Regions from separate parts of the Homo sapiens genome. Here region 1 is linked to region 2. Evidence: promoter capture Hi-C in human tissues and cell types (Jung and others, 2019). All regions are on one chromosome and are shown on one strand. Each heading gives the region's core, a stretch centred on a gene start or on the middle of the fragment in contact. The rest is flanking DNA. Distances are from core to core; before and after follow the strand shown.

The links. Contacts are between HindIII fragments. The study calls those that stand out against the background at their distance.
Region 1: a contact is called between a fragment that was not itself captured here and the fragment with the promoter of SCGB1D1 in region 2, in 1 of the 25 tissues and cell types used here (H1 embryonic stem cells).

Annotation. Positions count from the first base shown.
Region 1 is chr11:62,226,259-62,232,767 of GRCh38, forward strand. No RefSeq gene overlaps it. Among named protein-coding and RNA genes, the nearest start is that of SCGB1D2, 13 kb to the right of the region's middle. The HindIII fragment of the contact is 5,846 bases long and covers 1-5,746 here.
Region 2 is chr11:62,185,084-62,191,620 of GRCh38, forward strand. It overlaps SCGB1D1 (secretoglobin family 1D member 1), which reads left to right and starts at 5,133. Exons shown (of 3, transcript NM_006552.2): 1 at 5,133-5,256. The coding sequence starts at 5,202. The HindIII fragment of the contact is 12,490 bases long and covers 1-6,537 here.

The sequences.
Region 1 (6,509 bases), core at 1,574-4,073, 39 kb after region 2:
CAATAGTTATTTTGTTTCCTATGCATTTCTAGCAAGGCATCATTCATTCCATTTATCTGGAATTCCTAAGCAACCTTTTTTGGGGTGCAGGAATTACTGGAGCACACCAGCTTTTCATCCTTAAACTAACTTTTTGGATTTTAGGCTTCCTGATACTTTAAGTGTGTTGAGTATACACTTACAAATAGAATTTAAGTCATATTTCTCTCTCTGCCTAGTTTCTCCAAAATTTGTAAACTGTCTATGAATATTTTTAATTCATGGCAATGTGTTTGTTTGCATACAGTCAAGCAGGGCTGCCAGGGCCGCTCAGGGAGAGAGAACCCAGAAACCTGGCATGCCAGCCAAAGGGTAAGAATTTCTTACCAGGCAGTCTCTGGCCTCTTTCTCTCTGTGCAAACTGGTTAATCTCCTCTGTGAAGTTTTAAATTAGTTGGTTTAATAATAATAAAACCTTAAATTAAATATTTTGTCAGAAAAGTAGAAGGTGTAATGCCTTTTAGTTCATGTGACTTTAGCAATCTTTGAGAAATAAAGATGTTTTTCAAGATTATGGGTGGCTGGGAGTGGTGGGTCACGCCTGTAATGCCAGCACTTTGGGAGGCTGAGGTGGGCAGATCACGAGGTCAAGAGATCGAGACCATCCTTGCCAACATGCTGAAACCCCATCTCTACTAAAAATACAAAAATTAGCTAGGCATGGTGGCGCATGCCTGTAGTCCCAGCTACTCGGGAGGCTGAGGCAGGAGAATCGCTTGAACCTGGGAGGTGGAGGTTGCAGTGAGCCAAGATTGCACTACTGCACTCCAGCCTGGCAACAGAGCAAGACTCCATCTCAAAAAAAAAAAAAAAAGAAAGAAAGAAAAAAAGAAAAAGATTATGGGTAAAATACAAATGTCTTCAAAATGTAAACATGTAGTCTAAATTATGTTCAAATATTAGGTTTGCTAAATGCTGTAAGGTCATAAACTGTTTCTTTGGCTTTTGAAAATTGTTTAACTTACCTGCTTTCCAGCTAGGTAAGGTCTGGGAACATGTGGAATTGGCCACACCCTAGCTATGCTGCAAATAGTCAAAACTTATCAGAATGTAATTTACCAGGTTTTACCTTAAAATTCTTCATTACAACATGAAATTAAGACCACTAGAAACAGTTTTACATGCAAGATATGTAAGTAGAATGTGTTTTTTTTTCCTTGTAAGAGGCTATAAAAGGTTTTTACATCTTTAAGATTTCTGAGTCATCATTTTGGCAAAATAAATAATTTATGGTAATCTGGAATTCCAAAATCAAACTTCAGTTTCAAAATTGTCTTTCCTAATTCCTGGCTTTCTAGATGAATCAGAGGGCCCCTGAAAACATCTTGAAAAGAGGTAAACAGGATTATTTGATGTGTTTAGGTACATGGGCCAAAATGATGTTCAATCTTCTTTAGGTTATATTTTTGTGAATAATACTAATATATATTCCTAAATTGTATGGGATTTCTAAAATTCTAATGTCTAAGTATATGCTATCAATTATAATTATGGTTATTATGTTAAGTTATTGTAAACCACAAAAATAATGAAATTTTCTTGCCAGTGTTATGTGCCTAATTTGGATAAACAACTGGTATCCAAGAGGATATAAGTCTAATGTTAACTAAACATGGACTCATGGAGAAACAGGATGGCCATCTTGTCCTTCCTGAGTCCTTAAAGCTTTTATTATTAAAACTTCTGCATTCCATGACTCATCGTGGAAAAGATATAATGATCCCAATTGAATACATTGGTAAAGTGGCTTACAAATTACTAAAATAATTTATAACCGATGCTTGATCCCATATTCCTGGGAAAACAATTAAAGCTTCAGGTACATTTGGTCGCCTGGTGGGCAACTTAAACATTTTATAAAGGGATTTCATCCCATTTTAATTTTCAGTGCATGTTTTCTGGTTGTATAAAAGCTTTCCCATGCAAGAGGGATGATGTTATAACAGTAGATTATTATGCTACAGTGTATTTTCACCAGGTAAAGAAAGCTTTTTATGGTTTGAATCTCCTGGAAACGTCAGAAAAAGACTATCCTTGCCATCCACACTACAACAAAATTTTGGGGCCTTGGGATTCGGGTTCATGGTCTCACAACTGAGAAGGGGTCCCTCCCCGCTTTTGGAACTGTGCATTCATTGGAACCCTTGAGGAAAAGCTAACCACGGAAACTTCTCCCAAGAAGAAGATGACATCCTTGATGTGAACAGCTTTTCCCAAGTTCACAGATCGAGACTTCTACTATCATGAAACTCTTATCTTTGAATTTTTTTTCTTGCTTATGCCTCTATGAACAATAGAAATGGAAAAGGGGTCTGTTATGCACCCTTATGGGGTATACTCTTATTTGTGAAGGAGTTTGCAGCCAGCCTTATACCTGGGTAATCTTATACTTTGATAGATAAAAGGTGAACGGCCAAGGTAGGTAAGAAACTTTAATGGTACACACGTTGCCTCACAATCATCAAAAACAAAACCTTGGTTCACTCCTCTTAACCCATATCATGGGTTGAAAGAGAACATTGCCAGGAGGCCTTCACACTTCCAGAAGGGTATCATTTGTTTGGTCCTTTTTATGTGGTTTAAAGTAAAAGAGACAATGATTAGAAATGTATCCCTCATGATAGGTTCCATAGCAAACTTTACTGTATAGGCCACACTTACACAACAGACTTTAAATTCTCTTCTGAAAGTTATGCTAAATAATAGAATTAGCTAACCAGAAAAGTACCTGTGCAGCTGCTGGCAATTTTGGCCTATGGGGAATTACATCAAATGAAGATTAGAGAAATTCAGTGGTAGGGGATTGATGAAGAAATTGCTTAGTCAAGAGAGTAAACTTTATCTAGCTCATTATTTGATCTATTTAATTTGAAGTGGTTTGGTTTATGGAGACCTTGGGTGAGGAGCATACTGCAAACTCTTGGTATTATCCTCCCAGTAGTCTCTCTGGTGCACTGTATTCTCTCAAAGGTTTTAAATACTTTTACTCAGCCATCTCTAGAATGTCATATGGTCTCCCTTCAACTGGAATAACAGGGGCTAAAAGAAATGTGCGACCATGAGGACCCTGTAACCTATAAATGATGTGCTGAGACCAGAAACCCAAAATAATGGTAACTGAGAGTGGCGTTAAGCCCCTAAGTTTGTGTCACACTCTCACCTAAGTGAGAACTTGTCCATAAAGGGGGAATTTTAAAAACAAAATTCTAGGGCGGTCATTGTTTTGGACTAAGGTCATGCACTAGGCCCCAACAAACCAAACCAAACCAAAATGGAGTTGCTTGTGCTAAGACTTTAAGGAAACACATAGATTCTAGAACAGACCAGGTTTTGTTTTTTCTCTTGCAAATCTCTATAATGAAAATTTCTAAGAGCGGAGGTATCTGCCCCCTGAAGTTCCCATTAAATCTTTTAACCAAATTCATTTCCTCTTGCCTAGAGACCTTCAAGCTTCAGATAATCATGCAACAAAGGTTCCAGCCAATTCCAGGTGAAGACACCGCCCCAATGCCATCAAGAAGCTACTCCACCTCCACTAGACAGAACAGGGTGAGAGTTCCATGATCCCCAAGTCAACATGAAGCAGTTACAGAAAAAAGACCATCAGTCCCTCTGCCTCCCATAAAGACTTATGGAGATCACATCCCTCACGGGGGAGATGATGCAGAAAAATAGGTTCTGGAGGCAGAGAACATAAGGCCAATTCACACTTCAGCTATGAGAGGAAATATCCTCTCCATAGGGCGTAGGCCAACTCAATGACTTTGTCATTTTACTTCATCCTCTCCATTTACATAGGGCTTACCCCAAGTAACCAATGGAATCCTCTAGCAGGTATTTAAACTCCCAAAAATTCTGTAGTGGGGCCTTTGAGCCCCTATGCTCGGGCCCACTCCCACGCTGTGGAACATACTTTCATTTTCAGTAAATCCCTTCATTCCTTGCTTGCTTTATTTGTGCGTTTTGTCCAATTCTTCATTCAAGATGCCAAGAACCTGGACACCCTCCACCATTAACAATGCCTGTAATACCAGCACTTTGGGAGGCTGAGGTGAGTGGATCGTGTGAGCCCAGGAGTTCCAGACCAGCCTGGACAACATGGCAAACCCCATCTCTACAAAAAGTACAAAAATTAGCTGGGCATGGTGGTGCATGTCTGTAGTCTCAGCTACTCAGAAGGCTGAAGCAAGAGGATCACCTGAGCCAGGGAGGTTGAGGCTGCAGTGAGCTGAAATCATGCCATTGTGCTCCAGAATGGACAATGGAGTGAGACCCTGTCTCAAAAAGAAACAAACAAATAAAAGCAAATAAAATAATTGAGATCATATAAACCATGTTCTGTGACCATAATTGAGTCAAATTAAAATCAAGAACAGGATAACAAGAAATCCTCCAATAACTTGGAAATTAAACATCTGACTACTAAACAATCAATGAGTCATTAAATACTTTCTGAAATTTGTATTAAGTATCTTTGTCTAACACTGAGATGACAGGTATAGGCGGGCAAGAACAGTGGATAAGCCCTTCTCTACTCTGGCCTCCTGCTGGGATGGTTGGGGACAATGCTCTTTCACTTCCTAGAGGGCCTCTGGTTTTTTGAGAGGACCAGAAACTGTGAAGCACAGCATTAATCTCATGCTATGAGGCCTGAGAGAGCGTCATCATCCTCTATTTACATTTTCTTCTTACAAGCAACTGTGGCTGCATTGTGATGCCTGGAATCATTACACTCTGTGATCTCCTCATCCCATTTGCATTGAGCTATACTCTCTTACAAGGGCCTGTCTTCTTTTTCTTTTCTTTTTTTTTTTTTTTTTTTTTGTGACATAGTCTTGCTCAGTTGCCCAGGCTGGAGTGCAATGGCACGATCTTGGCTCACTGCAACCTCCGCCTCCCGGGTTCAAGTGATTCTCCTGCCTCAGCCTCCCAAGTAGCTGGGATTACAAGCATGCATCACCACGCCTGGCTAATTTTGTATTTTTAGTAGACACGGGGTTTCACCATGTTGGTCAGACTGGTCTCGAACTCCTGATCTCAGGTGATCCACCTGCCTCGGCCTCCCAAAGTGCTGGGATTAGAGGCATGAATCACCACACCCTGCCAGAAGGGCCTGTCTTCTATTTCATTTTTATTCCTAGGTTTCTTTCCATCCAAAGTTAAGAGTTCATTTCCATGCTAGATCTCTGTACAACCCTTTAAGCTATGGGTGTCTTTATGTGTGAAATGGGGCTCTTGAAGAGAGCAGATGAATGGGTCTTTTTTTTAAATCCAACTTGCAACTCTGTGCATTTTAAGTGGGATGTTTAGACCATTTACATTCAAGGTTGATATTGATATGTGTAGTTTTGATCCTATCATGAAGTTGTTAGCTGGTTACTTTGTATTTTCTACTGTGTTGTTGTTTTATAGGGTCTGTGAGTTATGTACTGAAATAGACACATAGACCAATGCATCCCAGGAATAAAGCCATCCACCTTCAGCCATCTGATCTTTGACAAAGTCAACAAAATTAAGCAATGGGGAAAGGACTCCATAGTTAATAAATAGTGCTGGGATAGCTGTCTAGCCATATGCAGATTAAAACTGGACCCCTACATTTCACCATATACAAAAGTTAAATCAAGATGGATTACAGATTTAAATGTAATACCTCCAACTATGATAATCCTAGAAGAAAACCTAAGTCACACCATTCTGGACATCAGCCTTGGGAAATAATTTATGAATAAGTCCTCAAAGGGAGTTGCAACAAAAATAAAAATTCACAAATGGATCTTCATTAAACTGGGACAGCTTTGTAGGGAAACTAACTTAGAAGCCCAAATTAAGTTCAGAAACTAGAATCTAGACTCCAGCAAAACAGACTGAAATGAACTCCAATCATATTAATATGTTTATCTTGTATTTAGTGCACACCTGCTGTGTGCAAGCATAACATTGGGTCCTTTGTTGGCTGCAGAGTTGAGTCACTGATGAAGTCCACCTCTCTGAATGAGGATTTGGTTCATAGGGATTATGGACCAGCAGATACGATGCTGCCAGTCCCTGTCTCAGAATCCATTATTCTTTGGGTATTGAATATCCTCACCATTGTCACTGTTATCCCTGAAATTGGGTGACAGTTGCCATTTCCCACAGAAATTTAAAAAGTCTTTTCTGTGGGTGTTTTGAGGTTTTTAAAAATTGTTTGTTGTCCTTTGTTTTCACAAGTGTAAAGTTGCTCCAAATTGTGGAGAAGAATTATCATTTTCTTTTTTTCCCCTATTTCCTGTATATTTTTTTCACCCTTTTTCCTTTGCCCTCAATCTTTAGAGGAAAGTCTATCTCTGTCTTGGGCGAGGTGTTTTTGTTCCCCGATCCACTGGAGTCCCTGGCACCATCCACAGTCCCTAGCGTGGGAGGTGCTCAGGAGTTGAGGACACGAAAATTGGCCTTGGCCTGCTTTTACCGCAATCTAGGACAGGCAC
Region 2 (6,537 bases), core at 3,883-6,382:
TCTTAAAACGACTATTTTCTCTTTCAGCTCTTGTCTCATTTTATTGGATTCCTTAGATTCCTTGAATTGGGTTTTGGCCTTCTCCTGAATGTCATTGATCTTCGTTCCTATTCAGATTGTGAATTCTGTGTCTGTCGTTTCAGCCATTTGAGCTTGTTGGGGAAACCAGCCCCACACCACCTGGCGGGTACCCCGAGTCCAGCCGAGACAAAGGAGTTAGAAAGAGACAGAATAAAATTTTAAAAGGCAGGTCCAAGGGACCGGAGCGTCAGAGGCTTGCTCAGGGCCCAGAGCTCTTCGGCTCCACCTAATTTATTGGTTTACAAGTTCTTTGTTCTTAGGGCAGATGGGAAGGGTAGGAAGGGATGAGGAAAAGGATTAATCAACGAAGGAGAATTCGTGCGTCGTTCAATAAGATGTATAGCAGTGGCGGTTTCTGTGAATTTCCTTGAGCAAAGGCGTGTGTCTAAACTACTTAAGATCTTTAACTTATCCGGAATGAAATGGGTGGGAGTGGGTTTCAGGGGGAGCCAAGATGTTTGATTATACTCCACTGCTTCAAGGGAGTGTTATCTCCCCAAGCAACCTCTGGAATGCCGCTGAGCTGTTATGCTTTAGGGGCAAAAAGACATGAAGGCAATAAGGAGACTTTTCTCCTCAAAGGCCACCCATGGCTTCCCATGGGTGTCTCACACAGGGGAGACCAACTCATCTGGCATCCCAGAAACTCTCTTTCCCACAGAGCTGATTAAGAACCATTGCTGGGGAACTAGTGTGGTCATTTGGAGGTAAGACGACACTCTGGCTTTTTGAGTTGCCAGAGTTTTTGTGCTGATTCTTTCTCATCTGAGTGGACTGATGTTCTTTTAATCTTTGAAGTTGCTGTCCCTTGGATGGGCCTCAGCCTCCAAAGTAACTGGGACTACAGGCATGCACCACCGCGCCCAGCTAATTTTTGTATTTTTATTAGAGACGAAGTTTCACCATGTTAGCCAGGATGGTCTTGATCTCTTGACCTCATGATCCGCCTGCCTCGGCCTCCGAAAATGCTGGGATTACAGGTGTGAGCCACTGCACCCGGCCCGGTTTTTTTCTTTTGCATTCTTTGATGCCCTTGAGGGTTTGACTGTGGTATCAGTTGGGTTCAGTTGACTGGGCTTTGTTTCTGGAAGATTTCAGAAGGCCAAGGTTCAGTTCAGTTCAGCACTCCTGGGCTGCTTGCTCTAACCCTGGAGGCCTGGTACCAGGCCCATTGCTTTGTTCTCCGGCCCCTTGAGGTTAAGCACCCGCTGTGCTGGTGAGGTGGAGGTGTTCCCAGTCTGCTGGCAACAACACCCTGCCAAAGCACTTCATCAGAGCAGTGGCAGCAGGATCTGTGCTCATGTGAATGCATGCTGGCAGCTGTGGTGGCAAATCAATATTGACAGTTTTTCTAGTGGATTGTCTTAAATTTCCCTGATAGTTGAATAACTATCTATAAATAATGACCAATTTATGTTCATGGATTTATCTTTTATATGAATTTTGCCCTTTGTTTGAAGAGAATATTGTTAACATCATGTTTCTCTCCATACAATTTTTTTAATTTAAATAGACAAATAATAATTGTATATATATATTTTTCTTTAATTTTTTTTTTGAGACAGAGTCTCATTCTGTCATCCAGGCTGGAGTGCAGTGGTATGATCTTGGCTCACTGCAACCTCCGCCTCCCAGGTTCAAGCCATTCTCTTGCCTCAGCCTCCCAAGCAGCTGGGATTACAGACACCCAGCACCAAACCTAGTTAATTTTTGTATTTTTAGTAGAGACAAGGTTTTGCTATGTTGGTCAGGCTGGTCTCAAACTCCTGACCTCAGGTAATCTGCCCACCTCAGTCTCCCAAAGTGCTGTGATTATAGGCACGAGCCACTGAGCCTGACCTAAACTTGTATATTTTTATGGCATACAATATAATGTTTTGATGTATGTTTACAATACACACATCAAATACAATCAAATTAATTAACAAATCCATCACTTCACATACTTTTTTTTGCATTAAAAACGTTTATTTTATTTTATTTCATGTTTTTAGAGACAAATTCTTGCTCTGTTGCCCAGGCTGGAGTGCAGTGGCATAATCAGGGCTCACTGTAGCCTGAAACTCCTGGGCTCATGCAATCCTCCCACCTCAACCTCTTTAGTGGCTGTGAATACAGGCACCCACCACCATGCCTGGCTAATTTTTAAAATTGTTTATAGAGACAAGGTCTTGTATGTTGCCCAGGCTGGTCTCGAACTCCTGGCCTCAAATGATCCACCTGCCTTGGCCTCCCAAAGCGCTGGGATTACAGGTGTGAGCCACCATGCCCGGCCAAAATGAGAAGATCTTAAGCCAACCAGGGAAGGAGTAGAGCAGTCATCAAAAGTACCACCTATGAAAACTAGAAAAAGCCCCGAGCAGATGTTAAGAGCTACAGGAATGATAAAAATATGTGGGAAGCAATCCTCTTTCAGATATACACATCCTTCCTAATGGAATATACAGATGAAGGCCAAGCCCACATCAGGAAAGCTCTGTTCAACAGCTATGGAAAATTCCTCACCCATCTGTCATCTGTAAGAACCTAAATTCGTGTCCCTGGGTCTGCAGTCTCAGAGACCATGAGCTGGGTTTCCTCCATTTATTTCAGATAGTGGGGGTGTATCCAGGTTTCCTTAGACAGTTGTGTGTCACTTAGTGACTGGGACACATTCTGAGAAATGCATAGGCAATTGTCATTGTGTGAACATCATAAAATGCAGTTATACAAACCTAGATGGCATAGCCTACTGCACACCTCAGCTATTAATAGGTAAGCCTGTTGCTCCTGGACCACAAACCTGTACAGCATATTACTGTTCTGAACACTGTAGGCAGTTGTAATACAATGACAAGTATTTGTGTATCTAAACATATCAAAACAGAAAAGGTGCAGTAAAAACACAGTATTATAATTTTAGGGGACCCCTGTTGTATGTGGGGTCTGATATTAACTAATATGTCCTTATGTGGCCCATGAATTGTAGTTCTGAAAATCAGTGATTTTTTTTTTTGAGGGGTTGGCTGTGCTTTAAACTAGGAACTGGTAATGATCCATGAAATGTATGACAGGTGGGACAAGGTAATAGTAGTCAACATTTATTGAGCGTTTACTACATGTCAGACCTTGTTAATTTTTTTTTCTTTTTTGAGATGGAGTTTTGCTCTTGTTGCCCAGGCTGGAGTGCAGTGGTGCCATCTCAGCTCACCACAACTCTGCCTCCCTTGTTCAAGAGATTCTCCTGCCTCAGTCTCCTGAGTAGCTGGGACTATAGGCACATGCCACCACACCCAGCTAATTTTTTGTATTTTTAGTAGAGACGGGGTTTCACCATGTTGGCCAGACTGGTCTCAACCTCCTGACCTCAGGTGATCCACCCGCCTCGGCCTCCCAAAGTGCTGGGATTATAAGTGTGAGCCACTGCGCCTGGCCAGACCTGGTAAATTTTACACACACACACACACACACACACTCATTTGAACATCTATCAACCCAATGATGTAGGCACCATTTTTAACCTACTTTTACAAACGAGAAAACTGTGTTTACATAAACTAATTTTCAGAGGGTTCAATAGCCCATAGACATGGATCTGAACCCTCCTAGCCATGGGCTTTGCCACTGGACCTTCCACTCCTTAGGGTTGGAGGCAGAGGTGGCATCAGGGGCTTCCCCACCATTTTGGGTGATGGAAGTGAGAGGCATTGTCGCCCTCAGCTGGGACTCAGCCAGACCTGCCAAGGTGTCTCTGATGACACAGACCATAAGGTCCGCTTCCTTCATAAAGGTCTTTCTGGGTGGTTCTCAGTACTGCTGCCCATCAGACCCACCAGAGCAGTTTAAACAGAAGAGGACCTCGCCCTAGAACTACTGAATCAAAATCCCCAGAAAGGGAAGCAGCCTGCGGGGAGTCAGTATAGTTTAAGAGCCCCAAGTGATTTGATTGCAGAGCAGAGAATGGAAAGCTCTGGCCTGGGCTGTGACTGTTCTCAAATGTGTGTTCACTTAAGAGCCAAATTTCTGGTGATTTCCTACTCACCAAATGATGGCACTGCAGTGGAAGGGCAGAAGGGTGTCTATTGCTTTTGCTGGGGATGGCCTTCGCTTTCCATCAACAATGAGATGACCCAGGCAGCAGAGCTGGGTTAGAAGTGGAAAACTTGAGCCCAGAGGTTAGAGGGAAGTGACCACCCACCCTGTTCATCCATCTCTTCCTTTCCATTATCGTCCCTGCCTAGAAGCGAAGACCAGTATTTCTGATGCCTGTTTGCCTCCAGACACCCCAGCAGCTCCTTGGGTAAAAAAAGTTGGGCAATTTAATCATCCCATCAGCCCTATGAGGAGATATGGGTGGCTAGAGGTCACTGGAGGCTTGCTTTTAGTAGACAGAAAATTTGAACCTGTGCTATGTTGACAACTCCACCCATAAATAAAGACACAGATCTTGGAGTGAGACAGAGTAGAGGACAGGGGGAGTGGTTGTTTTCCCCAAGGAAATCCTCCAAAGGTGGGGTGTATGCAGCTATGTTTTAGGTACCTATGTGGTGAAGATGGTGGGGATGGAAGGGGCTGAGTGGGAGGATAGGTCTGGTTCAGACTTGATCTATGTGCAGCTGAAACACGTGTGGCTGATTGTCAGACATGCAGTGGAGGTCAAAGTGGGGTCTCTTCTGTGCCTGCTCTCCTATAACCAAACCACAGCCCCTAGCTTCCTGCACCCCCGGTTTCTGTCCTCCTGAAATGAGAACTCACATTTGCCCTTGCACTGACATAAAGAACAGAGAGATAATCCTCAAAAGCCCAAAAGCAAACTGAGGTTCCAGGGAACATTGCCAGAGGCACCTGGACACTCACCTGGAGCACAGAGCAGAGTTTCTGCAGGGCTGCCCTCCCGTGCTCCGCCCCACTCAGGATGCAGGGAGGTGTGGGGATGTGACACTGATGGATGGCAGCAGCCCTGGCTAGGAAGGGAGGGCTGGAAGCCAGGCCTCATCACCTGCCAGATGCCCATGTGGGCAGGACCAGCCAGGCTCCCTAGGTACAAATAGCCCTGGGCTCCACGGCTCCACAGGCTCCCGGGGCTGAGTCTAAATCACTCATCATTGGTTAAAGCCGAGCTCACAGCAGAATAAGCCACCATGAGGCTGTCGGTGTGTCTCCTGCTGCTCACGCTGGCCCTTTGCTGCTACCGGGGTGAGTACATCAGTCATGAGTCCAGCACCAGCCCTTGGGACACACCCTTCTCTGAGCACGAGGTCACCTATTAAGGTTAAGGTTGGGGTCTGGAACAAACCAAAATTCCAAACCTTATCCTGTGCTTGTTGAAGGAACTGCTCATAAAGCTCGGGCCTCATTTCATCAAATCCCCAGTACCTAGGAAGTTTTGCAGAAAATCAATGCAGGCGAACGTTAGGAATTCTGCCTGAGCTTCACTCTTGGATGGGATCTGTGTCAGATGATGTAATGTGAGGTCTGGGGTGACTCTGGGCTCAGCCACTTCTCAGCCCTTTCACCGTGGGCAAGATGCTCACCCTCCCCGCGCCTCCTCCTATCTCTGGTGCTTAGAGCTTCTTCCGGGAGTGGCAATGGGAATGGAGTGGGATTATTGTGCCAAGGGTCTAGCTGTGGATGTGAAGCCAATCACTGTACTGTCAGACATTCTCGTCCCCAGACCTTTAGGTGCCAATTGAGCTCACAGCTTCTTACATTGTAAATTCAGACTCATAAAATGTTACATCTCGAAGGATCCTTGGAGAACTCTCAGTCCAAGAAGAGATGGTGCTTTCTGATTCTCTCAATAAGAAGCCTGCAAATGAATTCTTAGAATAAGCAGCACTCAATATATCTTCTAGGGGTCCTACCGTAATGGTGGTAGAAATACTACAATGGTTAGCCTCAGAACTTCTATTTTTCTAAAATTAATTCTGGCTGATTTTTCCCCAGTTCATTTGGGTACTTTCCTTTCCCCTGTCAGGACCGATCCAGACTCTGATTTTTCTCTTTCCTCTTCTTTTCTGAACCTCTCCCTGTTTCCCTGTGACACCCCGATCCTACCCTCTCCAAATTCTCCCCACAGTTTGAAGTCGGGTAGTCAGGGGTCATGTTGAGCATGGTGGGGCGCTTTCTGGATGCATGGTGTTTGCAAAAGACTTAGGTGAATGGAGATTCCAGACCAAGCAAAATGATTACTCCAGGTCTTTCCAAAATTCCCAGTGGGAGCAGGAATGAGCCTCAGTTCCCTCCTCTCATCCTCTCCAAATATTCTAGATGCTGCTGCAGAATATGGGCCAAGTACAATTTCCTGTATAAGCTTCTAATGTGTGTTAAAACTGATTCACATTATTTTATTTTGTTTTAATTTGTTTACCTTTTAGCTCTGTCTGTATTGAATCACATAAGCCTAAATTCTACAACTTGTTCTCAAAACATCACCTTCAACATTTCAATAATTTTAACTTCTTCTGTTCCAGATTT